Regions from separate parts of the Homo sapiens genome. Here region 2 is linked to region 1. Evidence: promoter capture Hi-C in 16 types of primary human blood cells and fetal thymus (Javierre and others, 2016). All regions are on one chromosome and are shown on one strand. The core of a region is centred on a gene start or on the middle of the fragment in contact, and the rest is flanking DNA. Distances in the headings are between cores, read along the strand shown. Region 1 holds the start of DNAJC21 (DnaJ heat shock protein family (Hsp40) member C21). Region 2 holds the start of C5orf22 (chromosome 5 open reading frame 22).

The links. The method cuts DNA at HindIII sites, captures the fragments that hold promoters and counts their contacts. A CHiCAGO score of 5 or more calls a contact.
Region 2: a contact is called between a fragment that was not itself captured here and the fragment with the promoter of DNAJC21 in region 1, in 5 of 17 cell types (total B cells, M2 macrophages, total CD4 T cells and 2 more). The highest score is 9.4, in total B cells.

What each region holds. Positions count from the first base shown.
Region 1 is chr5:34,927,612-34,935,097 of GRCh38, reverse strand. It overlaps DNAJC21 (DnaJ heat shock protein family (Hsp40) member C21), which reads right to left and starts at 5,539. Exons shown (of 12, transcript NM_001012339.3): 1 at 5,182-5,539; 2 at 1,190-1,283. The coding sequence starts at 5,278. It overlaps LOC124900961 (a long non-coding RNA gene), which reads left to right and starts at 5,417. Exons shown (of 2, transcript XR_007058731.1): 1 at 5,417-5,449; 2 at 5,965-7,486. RefSeq lists enhancers at 4,774-4,943, 4,410-5,055 and silencers at 5,084-5,283, 5,314-5,383, 5,394-5,863. The HindIII fragment of the contact is 5,598 bases long and covers 1,027-6,624 here.
Region 2 is chr5:31,532,284-31,538,044 of GRCh38, reverse strand. C5orf22 (chromosome 5 open reading frame 22) reads right to left here and starts at 5,744. Exons shown (of 9, transcript NM_018356.3): 1 at 5,572-5,744; 2 at 3,628-3,773; 3 at 2,152-2,301. The coding sequence starts at 5,652. RefSeq lists enhancers at 5,523-5,572, 5,623-5,672, 5,703-5,761. The HindIII fragment of the contact is 2,278 bases long and covers 615-2,892 here.

The DNA.
Region 1 (7,486 bases), core at 4,290-6,789:
ACACGGTACTGCTTCCAGGTAAAAAGAGAGTTACTAGGCAAGAGCTTTGACTAAAAAGACAAAGGAATCCCAAGGATCAGAAAACAACCCAAGATCTTGAGAAGAGAGTAGGCAAAAGGAAGTCAGGAAAGAATTTCAAAGTTCTGGGAAGAAGGCAAAAGCAATTCTAAGACCAGATCTCCAAATTCCTTGAGTAGAGAAATGTTCAGGATCCTCTCTCTGAGTTTCTTATGAAACACAATTTTGTAAGAATTTTCTTTGCAGCCTTTCTTTCTTGACAACCACCTGGTTGTACACTGTTTAACAGAAAGATGACTTGCACAGTAGCTCTTTGTAAGAGCAGGATCTTGCACAGTTATGTCAAAGCTTAAAACCTATTTCCTTGTAGCAAAAAGTTAATTGAGAATCTGAAAACTCAGAACTTCAACATAGTAATTTTCATCTGGAAATTATTTTAAATGATCACACCATCATTAGTAATATCTGTCACAGATGCAGAAGCTTAATTCAATTTCTTCATATAAAGTAGTTTTGAGGATTACCATTCTTGTATTAAAACACTGTATTGGTTGAGCACAGTGGCTCATACTTGTAATCCTAGCACTTTGGGAGGTCAAGGCAGGTGGATTGCTTGAGGTCAGGAGTTTGAGACCAGCCTGGCCAACATGCTGAAACCCCGTCTCTACTAAAAAAAAAAAAAAAATACAGGTGTGTGGTGGCACACACCTGTAGTCCCAGCTACTCAGGAGGCTGAAGCAGGAGAATCGCTTGAACCTGGGAGGCAGAGGTTGCAGTGAGCTGAGATTGCGCCACTGCACTCCAGCCTGGGTGACAGAGCAAAACTGCGTCTCAAAAAAAAACAAAAAACGAAAACCTTCTACCTGTCTGATATCAGTAAATCTATCATACACCAAAGGGTATTTAATGAGAAGTCACCTAAAGTATCAAAATTAAAACTATATAATATCACCAAACTTTGTTTCACCCCCTATGATATCAGATAATTGGAGCAATCATTTCCAAGCTTCCTTCTGACCCAAACGTTAGATTTTATGTGATGACTAGGTGACAGATGTTTCAGAACACACCAAAAACCATTTAATGTACTAAATTTGAAAAAACAACCACCTATATTGATAACTGCTCCCAACATCATAAACTAGGATGGGAAGGACAGCGTGATGCTCACCATGCTCTTTCCTGAGGGTCACTCAACACATCATATGCTGCTTGGATTAATTTAAATTGTTCAGCTGCTTCTGCGGCATTATCCAGATTTTTATCTGTTAAAGTCACAGAAATTTAAGTCAATCAAAAACGTACAGGACAGAATCTAAATAAGACATTTTCCATCAGAAATGCCACAAACAGATGAGACGTGCACAAAACAAGAAACAACCAGGGCCAAGCAGAAAGACTCCACGTAACAGTCAATAATCAGGATTTGTTAAAAGCAACAATCTAAGCAGAAATTTCAGGCTTTTCCCTAAGCCTTGGTACATCACTAAACAGTCAACTGGGCTGGGCGTGATGGCTCACGCCCACTGTAATCCCAGCACTTTAGGAGGCCGAAGCAGGTGGATTACTTGAGGTCAGGAGTTTGAGACCAGCCTGGTGGTCAACATGGTGAAACCCCGTTTCTGCTAAAAATACAAAAGATTAGCCCAGTGTGGTGGCGCATGCCTGTAGTCCCAACTACTCGGGAGGCTGAAGTGGGAGAATCACTTGAACCCAAGAAGCAGAGGTTGTAGTGAGCCTAGATTGCACCACTGTGCTCCAGCAAGACTCCATCTCTAAAATGAATAAAATAAAATAAAATAAAAGTAAAACAAGTCAACTGGATATCCACAAAAGGAAAAACCTGAGTAGTATAAATTTTACTTTTAAAAGGAGTAAAATAAATAAAATCAGTTCTAGAAAGACTTATTTTGTACTAGATTATGTTTAGTGCTGACATTGTTTTTTTCTTTCTCATCAATGTATATCAAAAGAAATCTCATAAAGTTTAAAAAATATACACTAATTAGTTATTATTTCCTTAGCTGTGCTTCCTGAACCATGGAATTCAGAAAGCGTCCTTGCCTCAGGGTGGTACCCAGCTTGCAAGACAGCACCCCGCCTCCTGGCATTCACACCTTGTGCAGTCCCTTCTGTGTCAGCAAGGGTAGTCTGTGTGACCAACAGGAGATGGCAGAAGTAATGGTACCTCACTTCCGAGATGAGGTTATAAAAGACTGCAGTTTCTACCTTGGGCTTTCCCTCTCTCTTGATCACTCTGGGAGTGGCCAGCTGCCATAGCATGAGCAACTCAGGCTGCCTATGGAGAAGCTGGAGAAGCTCATGGGGTGAAGGAGGCCAATAGCCGGCAGAGCACTGAGGCCTGCCACAACCACATGAGTTGGTGGTTGGTGAGCTGGTGAGTTGGTGAGCTGGAAGCAGGTTCTTTCAGACAATGAGAAAGCCAAAACCACCTAGCAAAGCCGCTCCCAGATTCTCATCCTTAGAAACTGTGGGAGTCCATATAGTCAACATAGGCTTGCTGTTTTTGTTGTTTGTTGTCTTAAGCCCTGAGGTATTGGTAATTTGTTACACAGCAATAGACAACTAATATATTCAGAACGTAAAGCATTTTGAATTGACTATGGAGAACACTAAAGTTCGTTTTTTTTTTTTTTTTTGAGATGGAGTCTCGCTCTGTCACCAGGCTGGAGTGCAGTGGCGCGATCTTGGCTCACTGCAACCTCTGCCTCCTGGGTTCAAGCGATTCTCCTGCCTCAGCCTCCCAAGTGGCTGGGACCACAGGCGTGCGCCACCACGCCCAGCTAATTTTTGTGTTTTTAGTAGAGACAGGGTTTCACCATGTTGGCCAGGATGGTCTCCATCTCCTGACCTCAGGTGATCCGCCCACCTCAGCCCCTCAAAGTGCTGGGATTACAGGTGTGAGTCACCGCACCTGGCCGGAGCACACTAAAGTTCTTTAAGCTACAGCTCAATACTTCCCTTCTAAGAAGTTACAAGAAAACATGACAGCAATGTCTTATCTACAAATAGTTTTGCCGCCCTAGAACATGGCTCTTCAGGGCTTCCTGCTGCCCATTCTCAGATACCATCACACTGATGCCATAAATTATGATGATATTTAGAGAAGATATTTGCATTCAGTTCCTAACAGGTTTGGTTTCAAAGGAGTTAACTGATACTTTAGTCATATTTGCATGCTTCTTCCTAGCACTGATTTCTAATTAATCACCAAATCTGGTCATTTTTCCTTCCCAACATCTCCTCCCCTTGCGCTTTCCCCCTCCCGCTGACCCCAAGCCTGGCTTGGGCCCTTACCTGTCTGTCCACTGCGGACTCTCCCTAACTTCTGTCTCCAGCCCTCTTCAATCCACTAAGTTGCCTTCATAGTACTCTCCCATGGCAGCTTAATAAAACCAGCCACAACTCTCCCTTATTTAGCGAAGCAAATTTCACAGTCCTTGGGCTAATATTCAAGATTACAAGAAATACAATCTGATTTCAAACTACTCTTGTACTCAAGAAATACAATCTGATTTAAAATCACTCTTCAGAAAATTACATACGCTTTTGGTCACAGCATTCGCTACTTCATTTACCCTTTCCCACCTAGAAAGTCAAGGAATTCCGAACTTCCTTCTAATTCCTAACTTGATTTCTAACAGTAACAACCCAAACTCCTAAGAATATGCTTCTACACTAACCCAAACTCTAAGAATATACTTCTACACTATTTTTACATTTATTAATTTTGGCTGTATCTTCTGACTTACTGCTATGATGAACATCAGTTCATTTACTTCTGCTCTTCTAATATATTTATAATCACATTTTTTCACGCCTCTGTTGGTAAGCATAACTTTAAGTAACAGACCCACACCTCTATCTCTCACTCCATCACCATAGCCATTCCCTTTTGACTTTGGGTCCCTGACCTTTCCTTCCACTCCTCTCATAATCCCTATTTTTCAGACCTGCAATACACACCACCTTCAGTCAAACTGTCCCCCGGAACATCTTTTGTCCTCCACCATGCTATCCTCCATACTGTTGAGTTCACTTTTCCAAATTGCATTCCTCTACGATCCAGTCCAAACTCCTCTGAGAAGGGGAAGACTCAATACAAAATGGTAACTCCCTCCCTGAATTCCTGGAGCATATATTAGTTGTTCCATTAATCTAACCACCAATTATGTATGTTGCGATTTTTTTCTGGCAGTTGTATTTAACTTTTCATTTGTGTAAGGCAGAAAGTTGTTTTCCTAACAAGACTCTAAGACCCCTGTCTCAGCATTTCCAAATCTACTTAGTAGAGTGCAGTGACTTGCATATATTGGATACTCTGTAACCGTGTTTACTGATGAATGCTAATATGAAAGCCTCTTCATATGAACCTCAAAAAGCTGAAAGTCAACTACTCTCTTAGTTTCCCAGCCTGGAAGATCAGATTACTTCATAAAAGTCACACAGGCCTGGATTACAGACCAATGAAACATCCAAAGGAAGGATACTTCTAAGTAAACATACAAACTTTACTGGGGAAGCCGCCTGATTAAAACCTTCCCCGGCAGAATCATGTCCAAAGTGAAGTACAAGGTCTGCTTAAACAGCTTATTAAAAGAAAAAAAAAACAGCGAAAAAAGCGCATCCCTATTGAAAAGATATTTTACTAGCTCCCGTGTCTTAACTTCTTAACTAAGAAACGAAAAGAGCCATACATCAGGTTGAAGTATCTGGGATTCCCGGACGAGGTGGAGGGCAGCGGAGGAAAAACACCGAGAGGCTGCGCTGCAAGGGACGCAGGGAAAAGCAAGCCTGGGGCAGGTCTGAGTTCCGAGTTCCCGACTGCTCCCTCGTGGTGTCTGCGACCCGGTAGCGGGAGCAAGTGAGGTTGTTGGACTGCAGTTTTCCCCCTACAGTGGCGATGCGGGGCCGGGGTCGCGGGTATGAGGAGATGGGGTGTGAGCCGGGGTGCGCCAGGGCAGAGCGCTTCGCCCACCGAGACGGGCAGGGCGGCTCCGGGCACTGGCCGGGCGGGGCAAGGAGCTCCTAGGCCGCCAGGTCCCTCTCTGCTGGCTCCGCGGAGTCCGCCCGGGGGAAGGGAAGGTCGGGGAGGGCCGGGCTTCTCCGAGTGGCCGCGGGGGCTGCGGGACAGGTACTTACCCGGGTGCCATTTCAGGGCCAGCTTCCGATAGGCCTTCTTGAGCTCCTCCTCGCTGGCGTCGCGCCGCACCCCCAGCGCCTCATAGTGACACTTCATCGCCCGACCGGGCGGGCGGCCGGCGCTGGGGCCCGGGACGGGGTCGGGGCCCGGGCCCGGGCCGAAGCGGCGGCGGCGGCGGCGCTGGCAGTCCTCTCCGGCGGGAGTCCGCCGCCCGCACCGGGCCAGCCAGCGAGCCCGGCGGCGGCGGCGGCGGCGGCGGTGGTGTAGGTCAGTGAAGGCGCGCGGTGGCGGCAGACGACGCAGGCTGCGGCAAGCGGGAGCGCGGCGGGGGCGGTGCCGGCGGCCGCCGCTTCGCATGGGCTAGGGGTGGGCTCTGTGCCGGAAAGGGCCGCGCGGGAGGGGGTGGGGCCTCGGCGGGGTGAGAGGCGAGGCCCCGAGGAAGGAAGGCGGGGCCTTGGCGAGGAGAGAGGCGGGCCGCGCAGGAGAAAGGCGGGAGCTTGGCGGGGAAAGAGGCGGGCCGCGTGGGAGGAAGGTAGGCCTTGGCCGGGAAGAACAGGAGGAAGGCGGGACCTTGGTGTGAGAGGCGGGGCCTCGGCGGGGCGAGAGGCGGGGCCGCGCGGAAGGGAGGCAGGGCCACGCTGGTGTCATTGTGAGGGGCACAGATGGCGGTCAGTGTGAGTGGCAGCCGACCTGAGGGCTGAAGGGGGAGATAGGAGCTGGGATGGGAGAGGATTCTGGAAAATATCTGATTATAATTTCTCAATGGATCCCCGTTTTTATAGATAAGGCGATTCAGACTCCAAGTGGTCAAGTGGTTGGCTCAAGCCTCCTCAGCTAATACAGTAGCAGAATTCGGTTGGACTGAATATCAGGTTTTTTTTTTAATCTCTTTAATTCTCTTCAGCTGCCACTTAAGATATCTGGTATTGATCATCTTGACCAATATGCTTGAGAAAGGACAGTTAGATTATTTAAGCGGAAACAATTTAAAAGGGAAGCATCAACACACTTAATGAAAAGCCTTACCACCAACATGGATGAAATTGTGCTGATCTATCCATCCAACACACTTTAATCCTAACTTTCTGGCCTCTAATCCTACCTTTCCAAGATTGGTTTAGGTTAAGAAAGCAGTTAAAGGATAGTATTTAACTGGTAGGTTTTGGTTGATCTGACTATCTGCACAATTATTCCAAACACTTTGAAAGGTATCAAAATAATACCATAATTATTAAAATGCATTAATACACCAATATATTTCACTGTAATGTGGAATGTTTACATGCATCAGTTAGGTGTGGGTTGTATTTACTAACCATGTATGGTTAGCTATGTTGCTAATATCTATTGCACAGGGTTGGCGTACCCAAGCGGTTTAGTAAGGTTATCCTTCTCTTCCCCAATATGCTGCCCCCAGTAAAATAAAAAACCCACGCTAAGCTTCATCAGGTTACTTCACACGCCACTGACCAACCAACTCACTACTCAGAATTCATACACTTCCCTTTTTTCCAGAGGAAGATTCTACACAGTCTCAGTTAGTTGGTAAATTGGTAATGGATAAGGATTGAGAAGTCTGAGTTTGGGGGAGAATGAAACCTTTCCCCTCCTGAGAACAGAATTGGGATGGTGGGCGGGGGGAAGGGAGGGACAAAAAAAAAAAAAAAAACGGAAAGGGAAAGTATTTTTTTCCCTCCAACTTAATTTGGAGTATTTTCTCCCTCCAACTTGATTTGGTTTTGGATACAGCCTGTAGGAATCACTTACTTCTTTTACCTTCTGAAGTAAGAAGGATTTTTGCCTGTAACATTGTATAATTAAAGGTAACTATGCTGGATATAAATTTCAGTCTAAAGGAACATCTTGACCAGGCGTGGTGGCTCATGCCTGTAATCCCAGCACTTTGGGAAGCCGAGGCAGGAGGATCCCTTCAGCCCAAGAGTTCAAGACGAGCCTGGGCAACATAGCGAGAACTTGTCTCTACAAAAAAAAAAAAAAGCCAGGCATGGTGGCGTGGGCCTGTAGTCCTAGTTACTCAGGAGGCTGAGGCAGGAATACTTGAGCCCAGGAGTTAGAGCCTGCAGTGAGCTATGACCACACCACCACACTACAGCCCTGGGTGACAGAGCAAGACCCTGCCGCTAATAAATAAAGGAACATCTTTTATTAAACTGGTGCCCTTTAAATGACCAGACTTTAGAGATGATCCATTCCAGAAGAATTCTCAAATAAGATATCCATATAATTGTGAAAGGGAATTTGAGATATAAGGATATCTCTATTATGGAAACTGTTAATTGAAAA
Region 2 (5,761 bases), core at 504-3,003, 3.4 Mb after region 1:
GCAGCCTGGTGTGGCCATGTGATTAAATTAAGGCCGGTGGTTGTGAATGGAAGAAAAGCATGCAGAGCTTTGTTCTCCTGTTCCCTGCTGACTGGCATATGAACACAGAGGTGGCAAGCCACCCTGGACTATAAGGACAGGGGCAATATTCTAGAGACGGTGGTGCAAAAAGGTAGAAGGAACTAGGGTTCCCCAAACTCTAGAGCTGCCACATAGGCCTGGACTGTGTACAGTGAATTCTAATATAAGAATAAACTCTCTTGTTTAAGCCAGTGTTCCTTTGTTCTCTCTCATACCAGCTGAATCTTTATCCAAAAAATCATTGAAGAGAAAAATTTCATCTGGAAATAATTTCTCTTAATAGAAACTCCCCCTGACATATTTTAGAGCTTTGTTAATTTCTATATAACCATAATATTCTCAGTATGAAAGGTGACTTGGTAAATACTTCAAACAGTGAAGCCAAATACTTCTTCTAGAGGCATGCCTTACCCACCTAAAATCATGGTTAATATTTATTTCCCACTTGACCTCTCCCAGCATACACAGCTATAAACTGTAAAAGCTATTTTCCAAAAATAGATTAATGACATAGTAAAACTAATGTCCAAGCTTATTAAAACTGTACAACCCTAAGATGAAGCTGTATCCCCCAACCTAAATTAATATTCTTTTTAATAACAGCAGTTCTCCCATGTTCCTATCATACAAACATGCAAGTATTTGTCAAACTGCACACCAACATGTATATGTGTCTCTTCCATACATTTTTACTTGCAGGATTAACCAAAGTCATGAATCAAAATCTTCCAAAATTGTTAATCACACGTGGAGTTTCAAATGTCTGTGTCAGATTGCTGAAAATTATTTGATTTTGTAGGTTAAATCAGGCCTACTCACTGAAGTACTCAATAAAAACCCTACTACTATTTCACATATACCAGTAGTATGTACAATATTTATATGCTGAGTCTTAATTATTTCTTTTGAATTATATCTGAAATAAATACAATTTTCATATATCACAACAAAGCTATTTGTGCAAACGACAAGATTATATACTACAAAAGTTAATTGTATCATTAAGAATAAATTAGAAATAAAGTATCATTTTCAATGAGGAAGACTATCTGATTTTCAACGTATTACCATTTCACTCCATTATCCTTAAGGTTCTAGAAAGTTATGGCTATACTGTTTAAAATATTTATCCCATCACAAGAGAATTTTAAAGTCAAGAACATATTGATATTTCTGAAAGTATTATAGTATCACAAGATACACAAAACATTGTTAAATAGCTTATACAATAAAAACAGTTGCATATTTATCTCAAGTCAGAGGATACTGTAATTTACTTTAGATTAAGTACTTATCTGAAACTAATTATATTATAAAGAAAATTAAAGCCCCAAATCTACTTATTCAGCAGTTGGATTTATAAAAAAATCAAAGTGAGATAATTTTGCCCTTTCACTGCTAATTACTGTTTTTTTGTTTGTTTGTTTTTTGTTTTGTTTTTGAGACAGAGTCTCACTCTGTTGCCCAGGCTGGAGTACAGTGGCACGATCTCAGCTCACTGCAAGCTCTGTCTCCTGGGTTCACGCCATTCTCCTGCCTCAGCCTCCTGAGTAGCTGGGACTACAGGCGCCTGCCACCACGCCCGGCTAATTTGTTTTTGTATTTTTAGTAGAGACGGTGTTTCACCATGTTAGCCAGGATGATCTCGATCTCTTGACCTCGTCTTCTGCCCACCTCGGCCTCCCAAAGTGCTGGGATTACAGGCGTGAGCCACTGCGGCAAATTCAGCAGACAACAGTTATACTGACAGGAAACAGTAAAATGTACTACTGAATGTATAAATCTATAAGATACTTCAATGGCTTAAGGAGTTAATCACCAATGAAGCCCAAATTCCGGAGGATAATGATCACATTCAAAATCTAATTTGACCAGCAACTAAATATAAATGGTACATGAAGAATATCAAGAGACTTAAAAGTTTGTTCTTCGTGTTTTGAGAACTCTTTGGAGAAGTCGAGGCTTAATCTGACCCTATTTGTGTGCAGAGACTTATGAAGTTATTATAGGAATCCAAAATAAGATAGAAACATTCAATCACTTCCATATTCACAAATATGAGGAAATTACCTGATTGTTGTGGTAGAAGTGTCTTTGCCTACTAAAAAGTGGTGTCTGCCCTCTCTGATCTGCTGAGCCCATGTGGGATGAAACCATATTACATGTGAAAAATGGCCAGCATAAACTGCAGGCATAATCCAATTTTCAATACTTAATTCTCTGGAAAAGAAACATAGAGACAACATTAAAACTTTTATTTTTATTTTTTCCCAAGTGTAATTTTATCCACAACATTTTAAGACCACAGGTCTCAAAGTGTGGTCCCTAGAGTGGTTCCTGAGACTTTTTCAGGGACATCACTATTACAAAACTATTTTCATGAAAATACTAAGGCATTATTTCCTGTTTTCATTTACTGACATTTGCAAAGATGGTGCAAAGGCACTGGTGGGTTGATGTTCCAACATTAATTAAGGCAGCAGCACCAAACTGTTAGTAGTTACTATATTCTTCATTACCAACCACTGCCAAAATAAATAAATAAATAAATATAAAAGTGTCATTCGAGAACATCTTGATTTTATTAAATTTCCATCCTGAGTATACATTTTTAAATATTATGTGTGGCAAAATGAGAAATGCACAGAAAGCTCTCCTGCTACATAGTTTGAAGCATAACAGTTGTCTCAAGGAAAAGCACTTGTGATTGAACTTTGAGGTGAACACCATTTATCTTGAAAGGAGTGGTCAAGAAACTATGGTTATTCACACTTGATACTGAATTGCTGAATTCTACATTTCAAATAAGCTTTAATAAACTACTACTTTTCAAGTTTTGGCGCACTATCAAAGAATATTCACAATTATCTAAAAAGGCTATCAAAATATTCTTTCCTTTTCCAATTACATGCCTGTGAAAGCCTGAATCTTCATCATATATTTCAACCAAAACAGCATATGGCAATGGACTAAATGCAGAAATAGACGTGAGAATCCAATGGTCTCTATAAAGGCAAATATTAAAAGGATTAAACATTGGCTAGGCTGTTTTTGTAAACAAAGTTTTTTTGGTTTGTTTCTTTTAAGAGATGGGGTCTGGTTATGTTGCCCAGTCTGGAGTGCAGCAGCTATCCACAGGCTTTGATCACAGCCTGGAACTGCTGGCCTCAAGTGATCTTCCCACCTTAGCTTCCTGAGTAGCTGGGACTACAGGCTCATCCACCATGCCCAGCTTGTAAATAAAGCTTTATTGGAACACAGCTACTGTCATTTGTTTACACAGTGCTTGTGATTGCTTTCACACTACAAAGGCAAAGATTAATAGTTGCAACAGAGACCATATAGCCAGCAAACCTAAAATATTTGCTAATCTGGCTCTTTAAGAAAGTTGTCAACACTTGTTCTAAATAAAATGAAAAAGACAAAAAGACAAACAAAAAACCCCCAAACCCATGAGTTTAGCAAAGTCTATTTCCTATAATTGCTTATTATCTACTGCAAATTGTACTTCAAACACAAAAGACCATAAATAAAATCACATATTACCCAAAGAGTGTTTCCTTATCAAACACGGTGTCTGCTGGCATATTCACAGGAATAAGGAGGTCTGGATGTGAGTCGAAATGTAAAAAACTTACATTACTGGCAGGAAGATGCTTTGAGCCTATGGCCCGGTATATAAAGGGTAGAACCTGTAAAAGACACAGGCACACAATAAGAATTAACACTGAAACCATGAGCACACACTCAACTGCAGACTGAAAAACAATGCTAAATAATGCACATAATTGAAAGCATACTATGTTGCTGTAAAGTGGAAAAACATAAAATTTGTTTACTGTAGATGGTGCAGATGATAATCTCAAGCATTACTTTGTCCTCAGAACTTCCAACCTGCATCTCCAGCGGCCTTCCTGCTGCCCCCTTGAACTCAACAGGTCATGTGGGGAAACAGACCAGGACTGGGGCTCAGGAACAAACTACCGCTTAATGCCTGTTCTAACATTAACTAGGTGTTCAAGGTACCCTAGGTCTCAAAGTATTCTTTTTTTTCCTTTAAAAAGGGATAGGGGCTTGTCAGTTGCCCAGCCTGGAAAGCAGTGGTGTGATCATGGCTCACTGCAGCCTTGGACTCCTGGGTTCACACGATCCTCCCACCTCAGTCTCCTGAGTAGCTGGGATTACAGGCACGCACCACTACGCCCAGCTAATTTTTTCACTTCTATTTTTGTAGAGATGGGATTTCGCTCTGCTGTCCAGGCTGGTTAGGGTCTTTTTGGTACACTTAGAATGGTGGGGTTGGGCTAGGTGGTCTATAAAGGCCATTTCTCCTCTTACATCTTCTCTAATTCTAGGTTTAATACCTAATTTGAAAGCACCGTCTAACCTAGGCTTTCTCATTCTCTCAAGGTCATAGACACTATATCCAGGTCCTGAGAAACCTATCTTCCTCTCCTATTAGCTGTCACCAACAGTAAATCCCTCTTCTTTTTTAACGTCCAGAGAACTGCCTCCCATCCCAAGCCTACTGATGCTACTTTAAAACATATTTATTAGATCCATGGGCCTCCTTTGTTGACTTGGAAAAGTCTAGATTAAGACACCAATTTGGCTACTGTAAATCAGCACGGCCATAAACATGGAAACCCCTTTTAGTGTTTATCTATGCAGGGCACCGTGTTAAATTTTTTTTTTTTTTTACGCAATATGGGCCGTGCGCAGTAGCTCACGCCTGCAATCCCAGCACTTTGGGAGGCCGGCGGGGGCCGATCACGTGAGGTCAGACTTTCAGACCATCCTGGCTAACGTGGCGAAGCCCCGTCTCTACTAAAAATACAAAAATTAGCTGGGTACGGTGATGCGTGCCTGTGATCCCAGCTACTCAGGAGGCTGAGACAGAAGAATCGCTCGAACCCAGGAGGCGGAGGTTGCAGTGAGCCGAGATCGCGCCACTGCACTCCAGTCTGGGTAACAGAGAGAGACTCCGTCTCAAAAAAGAAAAAAAAAAGATTTTTAAACACAGTATGCACACAATAATACTCCTAAGAGCCCTGTGAGTCCTACGATTACTGTCCCCATTTCAGATCAGAGCCCACGTTCCAAGCATAAAGCCTCCCATCTAAACAGCAGGGCTGTGGTGGCGATTCCAGGAGATACTTGGAAGCCAGAGTTAACTGCAGGTTAAGAACACAGGGCTCTGCAGCCAGACTGTCCGGTTTCGAATCCCGATGCCACCTTTTGTTTGGTTCTGGGATTTGGGGGCAAACCGAGGTAAATAAGTTGCCCCGACTCGTAGGAAGCGCCCATAAATGTCAGTTCTCATTCTTCCTAGTTAGCTGTTTTGGGGTCCTCTCCACAGCAACGGAATAGGGCAGTTTAACTCTGGTTAACTCTCTGGCCTCCGATGCTAAGGTTGCGCCCTCTGCTTGGCCCTCTGAGCGTCAGGGCTTCCGCTGATTCTGCCCCAGAGCCCTGTTGCCGTCCGCTCACCTCCTGATGATCCTCCACCACCCACACTGGGAGCTTGGGGTAACGCCGGAGACCAGCGCGCCCTCCCGCGGAGTCACTCATGTTTTTGCGCCCGTCAGTTTTGCAGTAAAGCGGTGGCAGCTGGAGAAGACCCGGGAAAGCCGGCGCCTCATCCCGGCCAGCTCTCTCCGGGCGGAAGCGCTCCCTCACC